2 separate regions of the Homo sapiens genome follow, and region 1 is linked to region 2. The links are contacts of gene promoters, found by promoter capture Hi-C in blood cells and fetal thymus (Javierre and others, 2016). All regions are on one chromosome and are shown on one strand. Each heading gives the region's core, a stretch centred on a gene start or on the middle of the fragment in contact. The rest is flanking DNA. Distances are from core to core; before and after follow the strand shown. Region 1 overlaps ULK4 (unc-51 like kinase 4). Region 2 holds the start of EIF1B (eukaryotic translation initiation factor 1B).

Evidence for each region. Contacts are between HindIII fragments. The CHiCAGO score rates a contact against its expected background, and 5 or more counts as called.
Region 1: a contact is called between a fragment that was not itself captured here and the fragment with the promoter of EIF1B in region 2, in 13 of 17 cell types (total CD4 T cells, activated CD4 T cells, naive CD8 T cells and 10 more). The highest score is 22.2, in total CD4 T cells.

What each region holds. Positions count from the first base shown.
Region 1 is chr3:41,872,502-41,878,597 of GRCh38, reverse strand. The region is part of intron 17 of ULK4 (unc-51 like kinase 4); the gene reads left to right. Among named protein-coding and RNA genes, the nearest start is that of ULK4, 87 kb to the left of the region's middle. The HindIII fragment of the contact is 3,624 bases long and covers 1-3,206 here.
Region 2 is chr3:40,306,106-40,312,444 of GRCh38, reverse strand. EIF1B (eukaryotic translation initiation factor 1B) reads right to left here and starts at 2,738. Exons shown (of 4, transcript NM_005875.3): 1 at 2,473-2,738; 2 at 1,389-1,552; 3 at 874-975; 4 at 21-475. The coding sequence starts at 2,503. The coding sequence ends at 431. It overlaps EIF1B-AS1 (EIF1B antisense RNA 1), which reads left to right and starts at 2,747. Exons shown (of 3, transcript NR_033965.1): 1 at 2,747-3,122. It overlaps LOC124906228 (a long non-coding RNA gene), which reads left to right and starts at 3,634. Exons shown (of 2, transcript XR_007095876.1): 1 at 3,634-5,731; 2 at 6,136-6,168. RefSeq lists a silencer at 2,328-2,377 and an enhancer at 2,648-3,007. The HindIII fragment of the contact is 2,965 bases long and covers 1,402-4,366 here.

The sequences.
Region 1 (6,096 bases), core at 145-2,644, 1.6 Mb before region 2:
TAATTTCCTTTCTATTTGTAGTTGGAAGTTTTCTTACAGAAGATCTTTCCCTGATCAACTATTTGGTTATCCTTAAAATAGAGTTTGTTTTGCAAGGCAGGATAAATGCTTGATTGTTCCTCTTCATAGGTCAGTTTTCAGAATAAAGAGTTGGTACCTGAGAAATCTCCGTGTCTAGTGAGATTGATTTTATATTGTTAAGAACTTACAGGTGTATATATGTATATGTATATCGTCTAGTCCTTTGCAGTCATTAGTCTTTTTGATGCTTACATTGTTTCATCTCCATCCAGTGGGAGCTCTTTCAAGTTTGCTCCTTTCTCCCTTTGACATGAGCCTACTCCTGTCTCTGACAGCTTGCTGGCTTCTCGGCAGTGAGCTTTCATAGGCTTGTTTCGGGAATAGTCAACCCCTAGTTTTGAAACCACTTCTATAAGGAATCTTGTTTACTTTGTTAGAAGATGTAGTTAGAGAACTCAATCTGGGTTCTCTAGGTTTTTTTTTTTTTTTTTTTTTCCTGGTAGAGCTTTTCAGAGGTTAGATCTAGGTACTATTGTTTCTTAAAAAGAGAAAAATTCACAGTTTATTCTGCTTTTCCAATTCAGATTTTTTTATTGAGACAGAGTTTTGCTCTTGTTGCCCAGGCTGGAGTGCGACGGCGCGATCTCGGCTCACCGCAACCTCTGCCTCCCGGGTTCAAGCGATTCTCCTGCCTTAGCCTCTTGAGTAGCTGAGATTACAGGCATGCACCATCATGCCCGACTAATTTTGTATTTTTAGTAGAGATGGGGTTTCACCATGTTGGCCAGGCTGGTCTCAAACTCCTGACCTCAGGTGATCCACCCACCTTGGCCTCCCAAAGTTCTGGGATTATAGCGGTGAGCCACCACGCCTGGCTCCAATTCAGATTTAAAATTCGTTTTTACCTTTTGATTTACAATTTTTATTTTTCTTCTCATAAGCTAAAATTCCTGGCTGGGGCGGTGGCTCATGCCTGTAATACCAGCACTTTGGGAGCTGAGGTGGGTGGATCACTTGAGTTCAGGCGTTCGAGACCAGCTTGGCCAACATGGCAAAACCCCATCTCTACTAAAAATACAAAAATTAGCCGAGCATAGTGATGCACGCCTGTAATCCTGGCTCCTTGGGAGGCTGGGGCATGAGAATTGCTTGAACCCAGGAGGCGGAGGCTGCTGGGATCGGACCACTGCGCTCCAGCCTAGGCAACAGAGCAAGACTCTGTCTCAAAAAAAAACACTCTTGGCCATTAATAACATTAACATAATTATCTTTTTTTTTAGCTTAGAGTTTAGAATAGTTTAAAAATAGTACACGTATTGTTACTAACAACAAAACTACAAAGTGCATTTTAAGTACTTTTTTTCCCTTGGGATATAACCCACTGGATGATATGTACAGTCAAAACGCTGAGTTTTAAAAGCAATTTATATAATTCTTCACTTTGTACTTTTGTCACCAATATGATATATAGTTACATATGTTTTCAATTTTTTTTAGATATTTAGAGATTACTTTGTACTTTCTTTCTGGTTTGAAAATTATAATTCTTTTTTATTGAAGTGTTGGAAATACATACAAAACATAAATGTATTGCTTAATGAATTATTGCCAAGTGTGAAAACCCAATAAACTGTCACTGGGTCAAGAAACAGAACATTAAGTAGAACATTGCCAGCATACCCGGGGATCCTCTTGTGCTCTCTCCTGATCACTGTTCTCTCCCTTTGTGCCAAAGGAAGTTACCGTAACTTCCAATTCTGTCATGATTTTGCCGGCTTTTGAATTTTGTTTAAATTGAGTCATATGATATGTATACTTTGGTATCTGGCTTCTTTTATTTCATATTATGTTTATGGAATTCATCCTTGTTGCCTGTACCTGTAGTTCATTTTTATTACATGAGTATACTACATCACTGGTGATGGGCATTTGGATTGTTTTCTGTATTTGGCTATTAAAAGCCTTGCACACACATTTTGATGCACTTGCGCAAGCTCTCTGTTGGATATGTGTAGGAATGGAATTGGTAGGTTACAGGATATGTGTGTGTTCAACTTTAGGGGGTAATCTAAACTGTTTTCCAGTAAGGTTGTATAAGTTAAAATGCTTTGACTAATGAAAGAATGTTCAGTGCTCTGTATTCTCATGAATACTTGGTGTTGGCATAAAATCATGTTAAATAAGTATTTACCAGTTTCCTCTTTGTTTTTAACATTAATGGTTATTGAGTTTGGTATGGCATCAGAAGATAGGAGTATTTAATTTTTCTTCCTATCTCTATTAATAGGTGGATTATATTAATGGAATTCCTAAAAATAAATCACCTTTGCATCATTATAAGAAACAACTTGGTGCTCTCTATAATTCACTGTTGGAGTCTCTTTCCTCATGTTTTTTTCTAGAATTGTTCCTCTATTTTTTCTTGCCACATTACATTGATTCTTGGAGAGTCCAGGCTGTTTGTCCTGTTGAATATTCCACATTCCAGATTTGTCTGCTTGCTTTTTTTGGTATTGCTAACTTATTCCTCTAGTCCACACATTTCCTATAAACTGTAGGTTAGGTCTGGACGCTTCATTAGATTTAGGTTGAACCTTTTTTTTTTTTTTTTGGTAAGAACATATCATAGGTGATACTGGGTACTTCATATTTGAACTCATCAGGAAGCATGCAGTGTCAGGTTTTAATAGTTGCACCTACTTTGATCATTTGATTAAAGTAGTGCTGCCAGAGAGCTCCATTGTAAAGGTACATCTTTTCCTTTGCAGTGCCACTTTAGCTCTCATGTGATGTATGCAATAAGAGCATAATATTAAAACTTATATAGATTATAACTGCTGTTTTAACATTTTTCTAAAAAAAAACATTCAGGAAATGTTAATCATTGTATTAATTGTCATTAATTGCCATTGCATTTTCTCTTTATTTTCAACAGATTATTACTATTTTTATTTTTGAGATGCAGTCTCATTGTGTTGTTCAGGCTGGACTACAGTGGCACAATCATAGCTCACTACCTTGGGCTTAAGCCATCTTCCCACCTCAGCCTCCTAACTAGCTAGTACTAGAGGTGCATGCCACCATGGCCAGCTATTTTTTTATTTTTTATTTTTTGTAGAGACGTAGTCTCCCTATGTTGCCCAGGCTGGCCTTTTTAATTTTTAAAAAATCATTTTAGCCAAGCTTTATTGAATGCTTGCTGTGTACCAGGTGCCAGGCTGGTCTTAAACTCCTGGGCTCAAGTGATCCATTAACCTCAGCCTCCCAAAGTGTTGGGATTACCAGCGTGAGCTATCACACCTGGCCTCAACAGATTATTAATTCACTAAGTTCATCATGCTGTGTAACATTATTTTCACCATTATTGTTTTTGAAATTTATCTTATTTAATTTTTGTTTAGGCAGGGTCTCGCTCTGTTGCCCAGGTTGGAGTGCAGTAGCACGATCATGGCTCACTGAAAGTTCATACTCCTGGGCTCAACTGATCTCCCACTTCAGCCTCCCCAGTAGCTGGGACTACAGGTACACATCACCATGCCTGACTAATCTTTTAATTTTTACTTTTAGTAGAGATGGTGTCTCATATTATTTCCCAGGCTGGTCTCTAACTTCTGGTGACAAGCAATCCACCTGCCTCAGCCTTCCAAAGTGCTGGGATTACAGGCATGAGCTACTGCACCTGACTGCTAATTAATTAATATGTTTTTAATATATATTTTTTATTTCAATAGCTTTTGGAATGCAAGTGGTTTTTGATTACATGGATGAGTTGTATAATGGTGAAGTCTGAGATTTTAGTGCACTGGTCACCTGAGTAGTGTACACTGTACTCAATATGTAGTCTTTTTAATCCCTCTCCCCTCCTTCACTTGTGAGTCTCCAGTGTCCATTATACCATTCTGTATACCTTTGCATACTCATAGCTTAGCTCCCGCTTATAATTGGGAACATACGATATTTGGATTTCTATTCCTGAGTTACATCACTTAGAATAATGCTGGCCTCTAATTTAATTTGAAAAATTTATTTTACATTCTATGTCCTCATGTTTTTTGGTGGGATAATCATGTTTTATGATTTAGTTCTTTAAAAGAGTGAAATATTGTAAGAATTATTGACTTAAGAATATTGGCACTACGTTCTTTAGCTTTCTACTGAATTGGTTATAGAATTGAATTTTATGTTAAAAGTGGATATATGGTGATTTGAAGCATTATTTAACTTAGTTCTTCCTGAAAATTGTGTGCTTTTGGAAACTCTAAACGTAGTGTATGATGAATCTATTTCAAAGGCTGTGATATTATGTGCTCCACTTTGGGCTCTTGCTCCGTATTAAGATGCACGATTGCACCACTTCCTCTTCTCTCTCGCCTAGCTTGAGTAGTATTGCTTTTCATTACTAGAACAACTACACATAATCAGTCCTGTCATTGTCCTTATTTTCCATAGTCTTCATTTTCAATTTATAACCTTTTTTCAAGAACAAATAGCACTTGTTGCACTTTCTGAGATATATGAATTATATATACATATATATGGACTTATTTTTCCCTATAGTTTTTCCATGTAGCATTTATTATGATTTTGTAAATATTCTAATTATAAAAATAATATGTGGTCTTCTAATTATGGCAATTTAGCTGTTGAGATAATCTTGCAAATTATGTGTGATCCTCCCACATCAAAAAAAAAAAACAAAAAAAACCACAAAAACAAACCTAGAGGGCGGGTGCGGTGGCTCATGCCTGTAATCCCAGCACTTTTGGGAGGCTGAGGCAGGTGGATCACCTGAGGTCAGGAGTTTGAGACCATCCTAACCAATATGGTGAAACTCCATCTCTACTAAAAATACAAAATTAGTTAGGCATGATGGTGCATGCCTGTAATCTCAGTTACTCGAGAGACTAAGGCAGGAGAATCGCTTGAACCCGGGAGGCAGAGGTTGCAGTGAGCTGAGATCGCACAACTGCGCTCTAGCCTGGGCGACAGAGTGAGACTCCATCTCGAAAACAAAAAACAAAACAAACACAAAACAAACAAACCTAAAAATGTAGGGTAAAATGTAACAAAAAGACTTTGGAATACACATGTGAATGAACAAGAAAGTGAGGGAAATTTTCAAAAGTCAGAAATGGCGGCAGCTAAAATCCTGAAATAGTAATACTTTAAGACTGTCTGGGACAAGATGAGATGGTGGTTATTGCTGTTGTATAATAGTTTTGAGGTTTGATACAATTTAAGAATAGAAGATGAGGCCTGAGGTTTGCCTTGAAGCAGTTAGATGGAGCTAAGAGCCTTGGAAGGCTATCCTTTTAGAAAAATGGGGCATTTTCAAAAAAAAAAAAAAAAAAAGAAAGGCAACTCATTTACCTACATAGAGAGATAGAGAGATAACAAGTTAGTTTGTTTGCTTATTTATTTATTTGAGATGGAGTCTCGCCCTGTCGGCCAGGCTGGAGTGCAGTGGCGTGATCTTGGCTCACTGCAGCCTTTCCCTCCCAGGTTCAAGCAATTCTCTACCTCAGCCTCCCGAGTAGCTGGGATTACAGGTGTCTACCACCATACTCGGCTTATTTTTGTATTTTTAGTAGAGATGGGGTTTCACCATCTTGGCCAGGCTGGTCTTGAACTCCTGACCTCGTGATCCACCCGCCTTGGCCTCCCAAATTGCTGGGATTACAGGCATGAGCCACTGCGCCCAGCCGAAGTTTGTTGATTTTTATCTTCAGCTCTAGAAATAGGGAAAAAAAGTCTTACATATAATTTTTCAACTGCAGTTTTTTTTTTCAATTTTATTCATGTATCGGGGTGTGAATTTATACTTCTCCCAAACTGGGAAATTAACATAAAAACCAGGCCTGGGCTCGTGGTTCTGATAATTGTCGAGGAGCTGTATTGGGCTTACCCTCTTGCCAATAATAATAATAATGCATCTGGATGGAATATAAAAACAAAAGTAGGTAGAAGCTGGAGGCAACACACTACCTGAAAGAAGGGAAGTGGACCTGGCTGAGCTGTACGTTTAACTGGCTTATCCTTCTGCAGATGTGCTAAGTTCACACCAAGGGCATAGAG
Region 2 (6,339 bases), core at 1,489-3,988:
GCAGAATGAGAGAACTCCAATTAAGAAAGACAAAATGTGTATTTTACTTGCTTAGATTTGGGAGCATAATTGCTCACAAAGATTCATAGATTTTTTTTTATTGTTAAGCTGCAACGTACATGGTTTAATACAACAACAAAAAAATTTAATCAAGTGAAACGTAATAAACTGAACAATAAACACTCAAAACATTTTCCATTGGAAACATGTAAAGACAATATGAGGTTTTGTTACCATCTTACTGCAATTTTCTTATGTGTTACTAGTCTACATACCCCATGTTTTCTGTAATCATGCAGATGTGAATGGAAGTTTGAATGATTAAATAAATGAAAAGTCCGTTTACTGCAGGGAATCATTTCACAAGGCAGCCAAACCGGGTTTAGAGAACAAAACTATTCAAGAAATTCTCCACGTATTTAGGTTCATTTTAGAATCCATGAACCTTAAGCTGTTCCTCCTTTACAATGCCAACCTGTAAAATAAAATCTAATTTAGCAAAATAACTCTGAGAAATATAAAAATTCATTAAGAAAACATGGAAGAGTAATTAAAAAGAATCACTATCAACAGCTTACTGCAACACTGTTGTCTGTGGCATGCACTGCTGATAGCCAACAATTCAACACGTATTTGAATACTTTACATGCCAAGAAATAGCCTGTGTGTGTATATAAAGAAATGATCAGAATACTCTAATGACAAAATAAACCAGATAAAGGTCTTTGCTTTCCAAATAACTACCATGTCTTTATTTCACCTAATTTCCTTCATTCGTATGATTTTTTACTTAGTAGAAAACAAATCATGTTGCCTTTAAATACAATTTTAAAAGCAATCTCAAGGTTACACATAAAGCACCCAATCACTCACCTCCAAGAGAAACTGGCAGATGTTTTTTCTTTGGTCACCTTGAAGCTGAATAACCTCTCCGTATTCAGGATGTTCAATCACAGTACCATTACAGGCAAATTTCTGGAAAAGTGCATAAATATACAACAAAATTTAGTCAACTACTATGAGGTTTTATTTCACCGTATGAACAGAATTAGCCATTTCAGTAAGCTAGATCATATTTAGAGAAACAGATTTTGTCTCCTATAATCCACAATCCTTCCAAATTAATTTGTAAACCAGGAAATGATTTTATGTGTAACATCAAGAACTAAATATTTCACATTTAAATTTATTTAAAAGCAACGCGAATCTTCTTTTAAAATGAGAGACCACACTGGGAGAATAACTAAATATTTACATGTTAATTACAAAAATGAGAACAACTTTCTTGGTCTAGTTATTTTCATCCACGCCGATATAAAGGTGTGAATCATAATCCAGTTCAGAGGTGTGCATCAGTAACTCTAATCCTTTCTTCCTAATCCCTTTACCTTTTTGAAAGCTTTCACAAGTTTCTTTTTGTCATAATCATCTGCAATGCCCTGAACAGTAGTCAGTGTCTTTCTGCCGTTCCGTTGCTGGATTCTTATATGAATGTAATCCTCAGTCCCTGCCGGGAGTAAGTCGTCACCCTTAGTTGCATCAGCAAAGGGGTCTGCGAATGGATAAAAAAAAAAAAAAAATCCAAAGTAGAAAAATATTTTTTAAGAAGTACTTTCCAGAAATACATTATACTACCAATCCAGACAGTCATCAATGAAGGTTCTAGTGCCTTTGCTGTTTTTGCCGGTAGGAATGGAGATGGGGGTGGAGTATTAATAAAACCCCCAAGATACTCTCACAAAAAGAGAAACATTTGAACAGCTATGTCCATTGTAGAAAAACGCTGTTATAGATAAATAATGTTATCGTTCAATATGGTCCTCTAATGAGAAAAAGATTTAGAAAACCTTAATATTGTAGCCGCTATAAAAATGTGCGTCATCTCGATTACATTCTGATGAAAACATAAACATTCGAATACGCCCACCTTAATCATTTAACCGTAACTGTGCCTTGCCAAAAAAAAAGTAGATTACATATATATCAAGAGGCGTAATTTAACAAATTGCTACGCAAGCAGAGAAGACTGAACCACTGGCCAGTGACAGATCAGAGGCTTGCATCCGCATCTTTCCCTAAGTGCCCCCAGGAGCTGCCAGAGAACGGGCGCCGATCCCTGGTTTCCCTGGCCCGGCATACCCTTTGCAAGTAGCAGGGCCGATCTAGGAGTCCACGAAATAGGATCGCCAAGGTTTCAAGGGGCAGAAGCGGAGGCGAGAGCCGGGTCAAGGACGGGGCAGGGGGTGGCGCAGGGCCCGCGGCCGGGGCTCCGAGAGGAGGGCTCGGAGTCCGGCGCTGTCCTCGGGGAAGGGGTCGCCAGGGGCCCCGTCGCCATTTTCTGGGCGCCGAGACAAAGCCCCACTAGGGGTGCGGGAAGGGCAGAAAGGGGGCCCCTAGGGGCGGTGGCCAGGCGGGCAAAAGGCCGAGATGCGCGCCGGGCAAGGGAGGGAGGCGGCGGCGACGGGATCTTACCGAAAGATTGGAGGTTCTGGATAGTGGACATGCGATACTAGTGTGAGGCCGGTGAGGGGATAAAATTCCTGCGGGGCCCGCCCGGATCACCTTGTCAGGAGGCTGTAGTGGCGAGAAAACGGAAATAAATAAGAAAACGCTTCGCCCTGGGGTTGGGATTAGGCTGGAGTGGCGGCGGCGGAAGCCGGGAGGAGGCAGGAAGAGGCGAAGGAGGAGGCGGAGGAAGAGGCGAGGGCGCGAGAGAAGAGGCGGCGCTGCGGCTTCTCGCACAAAATGGCCGATGGAGACTATTTAGCCGCGCCCGCGGCCCCTCCCACGTGACCGTCCCGCGCCGAGCATCCTGGGACTTGTAGTTTTCTGGAGGCAGCAGAGCCCGGAAAGCCTGAGGCCGGGGGCGGCCGAGACCGCAATTCCCGTCACGGAGTGCGTCCTCTAGCGCGGGGCGGAAGACCCGCGAAGTGTTCAAGCGGCCGCAGAGCGGCCCAGAGTTCGCAGGTCTGGGGCTCTCTTCCCAGAGAGCTCGTAGGGGAGGACAGTCAAGGGACTCAAGCGTCTCTCTTGACTCCCCTTCTCTCGCTGTGCAGTGGCGGCGCCGAGGGGTCGACGCTCAGGGCTAATCTCTATGAGTCACCCTCGAGGCCCCGGGTAATGTAAGTAAAATCGGGGTGCAGGAACAAAACAAGTCCCCTTGCTCCGGCTTTCAACTCATTGGCCCCCGCTCAGCAACTACCTGCATTGAAATTCCAACCCCAGTTGCAGGAGCGGTGTTAGTCTCAACCAATACTGGAGATGGGAGCCTCTCTTTCCAGGATTGGACGGACCTCCGATTCCCTAGCACGGTGGATCTCAGACTAAAGCGTGTGTCTCTGGAGGGCTTGAGAAAACACTGATAGACCCCAGAGTTTCTGTTTCAGGAAGTCTAGGGTGTGACCTGAAAATCTGCAATTCTCATAAGCTCCTTGGTGATGCTGATCCTGCCTGCTGGTCTGGGATCAGGCTTGAGAATCACTGCCCAGCTTAATCCTGGGCCTGGCATCGAGTGGGGGCCAGGTGTGTATGAACAGAAGATACCAGAAAATCAGCTTGTCAGCTCATTTTGTGTGCCTCAGAAGGCCCAACAGAGAATTCAGGAAAGATGCCAGGTATAAGCTGAAGGTGAGCTCAGCAAATAGGTTAATTGATGGAGTCATGTACCAGACCGTAATATCTTCCTATCAGGTCACGCACAGAAAAATAAACCCGAGACTTTGGGAATTGGCTCACTCAGGCAGGTGTGTTCAATTGTCAAACTTGGTTGGCTTTCTGGAAGCAAAGAGATAGACTAAAATTTAGGGATTCTTAACTTTTTTGTGTGTGCCATGGCAATCCTGTGAAGCTGCTGAATCCCTTCTCAGAATAATGAGAAGTTAAGTTTTAAGTTCACAAAGTACATAGGATTACAAAGGAAACCAATTATATTGAAATTTAAAAAATACATTAATAACGTGTATTTCTTTATTAATACACTAATAAGATCTAGCAAGATTAGGTCTAATACTATAATTTCAAAAAGCTGATAAATGTAAGAGATATTTTGTGATGTCCGTAACATCAGAAATTTAATATGAAAGTATGTGTAACTTCTGTTGGTGCGAAGTGACAGGTCCTTCTATCACTATGATGTTGCCTTTATTCATAATGGAAAGAAATGGTAAATTTTGCTTAGAGGTTAATGAAAATGCAGATATAATCTTTCCCCATCCAATTTTAGGGATCTCCACCCCTGCAGTTTTATCCATGAGCCAAGGATCTGCAGACCGCAGGTTAAGAATACCTGGATTTGACAATCTTTTGTAATTAACAATGATGATAAGTGCCATTTATTTAGTACTTACTGTTTGCCTGTTACAAAGCTTATATATAACATTATTAATCTTCATAGCTATTTTATAAGGTAAGCATTACTCTATGCACCAGGTGTGGAAATGAAGGCTTTTGTAGGTTAATGCCTGAAAAAAAAATCAAATTCTTAACTCTCAGAAATCTAACCACATTTGTGGTCTTCCAGCTCTGGTTCAAATGGAAAACACTCTTCGTATCCCAAATTGAGGTGTAAAGTTTAGAGCTGGCTCCAAAACAAGGAGCATCAAAATATCTAAATAAGTGTGCTTTAAAGTAATTTTATTAGTTCAATTTTGTGCCCTATGTTAATACTCTAACACTCTAATTTCTAAATAATTTGTAATCTAGATAATGCATCTCTATTTGTTTCCTTTCTTTCTTAGTAGATGTACATGAGTATTTTATATTACTTTATTTCTCAGAAGAAGCCAAAGGTGATCCAGTGAAGAAAAAACTACAAACACAGAGAAATTAAAAGAAAAATTCCAGAAATCTTAGGGTTTCATGGTCATTACCCCTGTCAGGAGAACTCACTTTTCTTAGATTTAGTGTTTGCATCAGAAACCTTCAGGAGTGAGAAAAAAAAAAAAAAAGAAAGAAAAAAGAAACCCCCAGGAGCTCAGAAATCTTTAATCAAAGCCAATATGAATACAGATTAGATACAGTTGTGGTTCTTAAGGCTCTTCTAACTCTCATGATTCATAGTCTTTGTGTTTAGACCTGCAGTGTCCAGTACAGAAACCACTAGCCACATGTGGCCATTGAGTACTTGCAGTATAGCTGATTTAAATTGGGATGTGATGTAAGTAGAAGATATACAGTAGGCTTCCAAAGACTAAATTGTCTTAATTTCACCTATTTCGTTTTACCTTTTTAATGTAGCTACTAAAGACTTAAAATTACATGTGGCTCATGCTCTATTTCTACTAGATAGCACTAGTTTAGAGTGAAAGAATTTGGCCTGTGTGTAAAGTTATCATAAAAAGAATAAACTGAAGCATTTAAAATCTAGCATTTTTAGTTCTAAATGGTACCAGCCTAGGTTAAGGTAATTATTTCTTGTCTTAATTCAGAAAAGCATTTTAGATCACTCACAGAGAACAGTTGTGCTGAGTAAAGGAATTATAGAAGATAATAATTAAAAAGCACCTAAAGCTGAAGGTAGAACCCCAAGTCTGGTTCTAACTTTCTGATAGTTAAGACAAAGAAGAAGTCAGCTAGAAAATCTTGTCTACAGGATGAAAACATACCAGTTGCGCAGGAGGAATAGCTTTGCCAGGCCCTGAGCCACAGGAGGTATTATTCTTGGGCCCTCATAAAGGGAGCACTGTGATGTAGTGGAAGCATCCCTAGCAGTTTGCCCACAATGAAGGCAATGGTGGGTTTTTTGCAGCTGTTTCTTATATCTGCTGGTCATGAGGATGTATTATCTGGTTGGAAACTTGGGTCCTCATCCATCCTTAGGCTGCCTACCGTGGTGGATGTGATAATGCACCATTCAGATTTCCTGCGTTAGTGGGCATAACTGATGAATAGCCCCAGCTGCTATGCTCTGAATTCAGCATTGCATCCCGTTGAGGCCACACTTCCCATCAGCCATTCCTAGCCAGTGACTGAGCACAACAAAGATGCTACAGCAGGCCTGTTCTTGGGAGATGTGGAACTTCTCTGACAGGCAGCTCTGGCTCAAGGACTCTCCATTGGCCTGGCTGAACTTCCTTAGATTTGTGCTGAAGTCTAAGATTCTTCTAATTCAACCTTTCTTCCTTCTGTCCTTCACAGGCATTTCCCCCAATAAATTTCTTGCACATCGAATCCCATCTTGATGTCTGCTCCTCAAAGAACCCAAACTGATAAACCTGACTCCAGACTGGTTGGTAGACGATAAGTAGAAGGAAAATTCCAGTTTAAATAATTCTGGTTATTACTACAAAGCTTTTCCTCCAAACTGTAAAATCTCCTGAACTGTGCTGGATTTCATGAGGC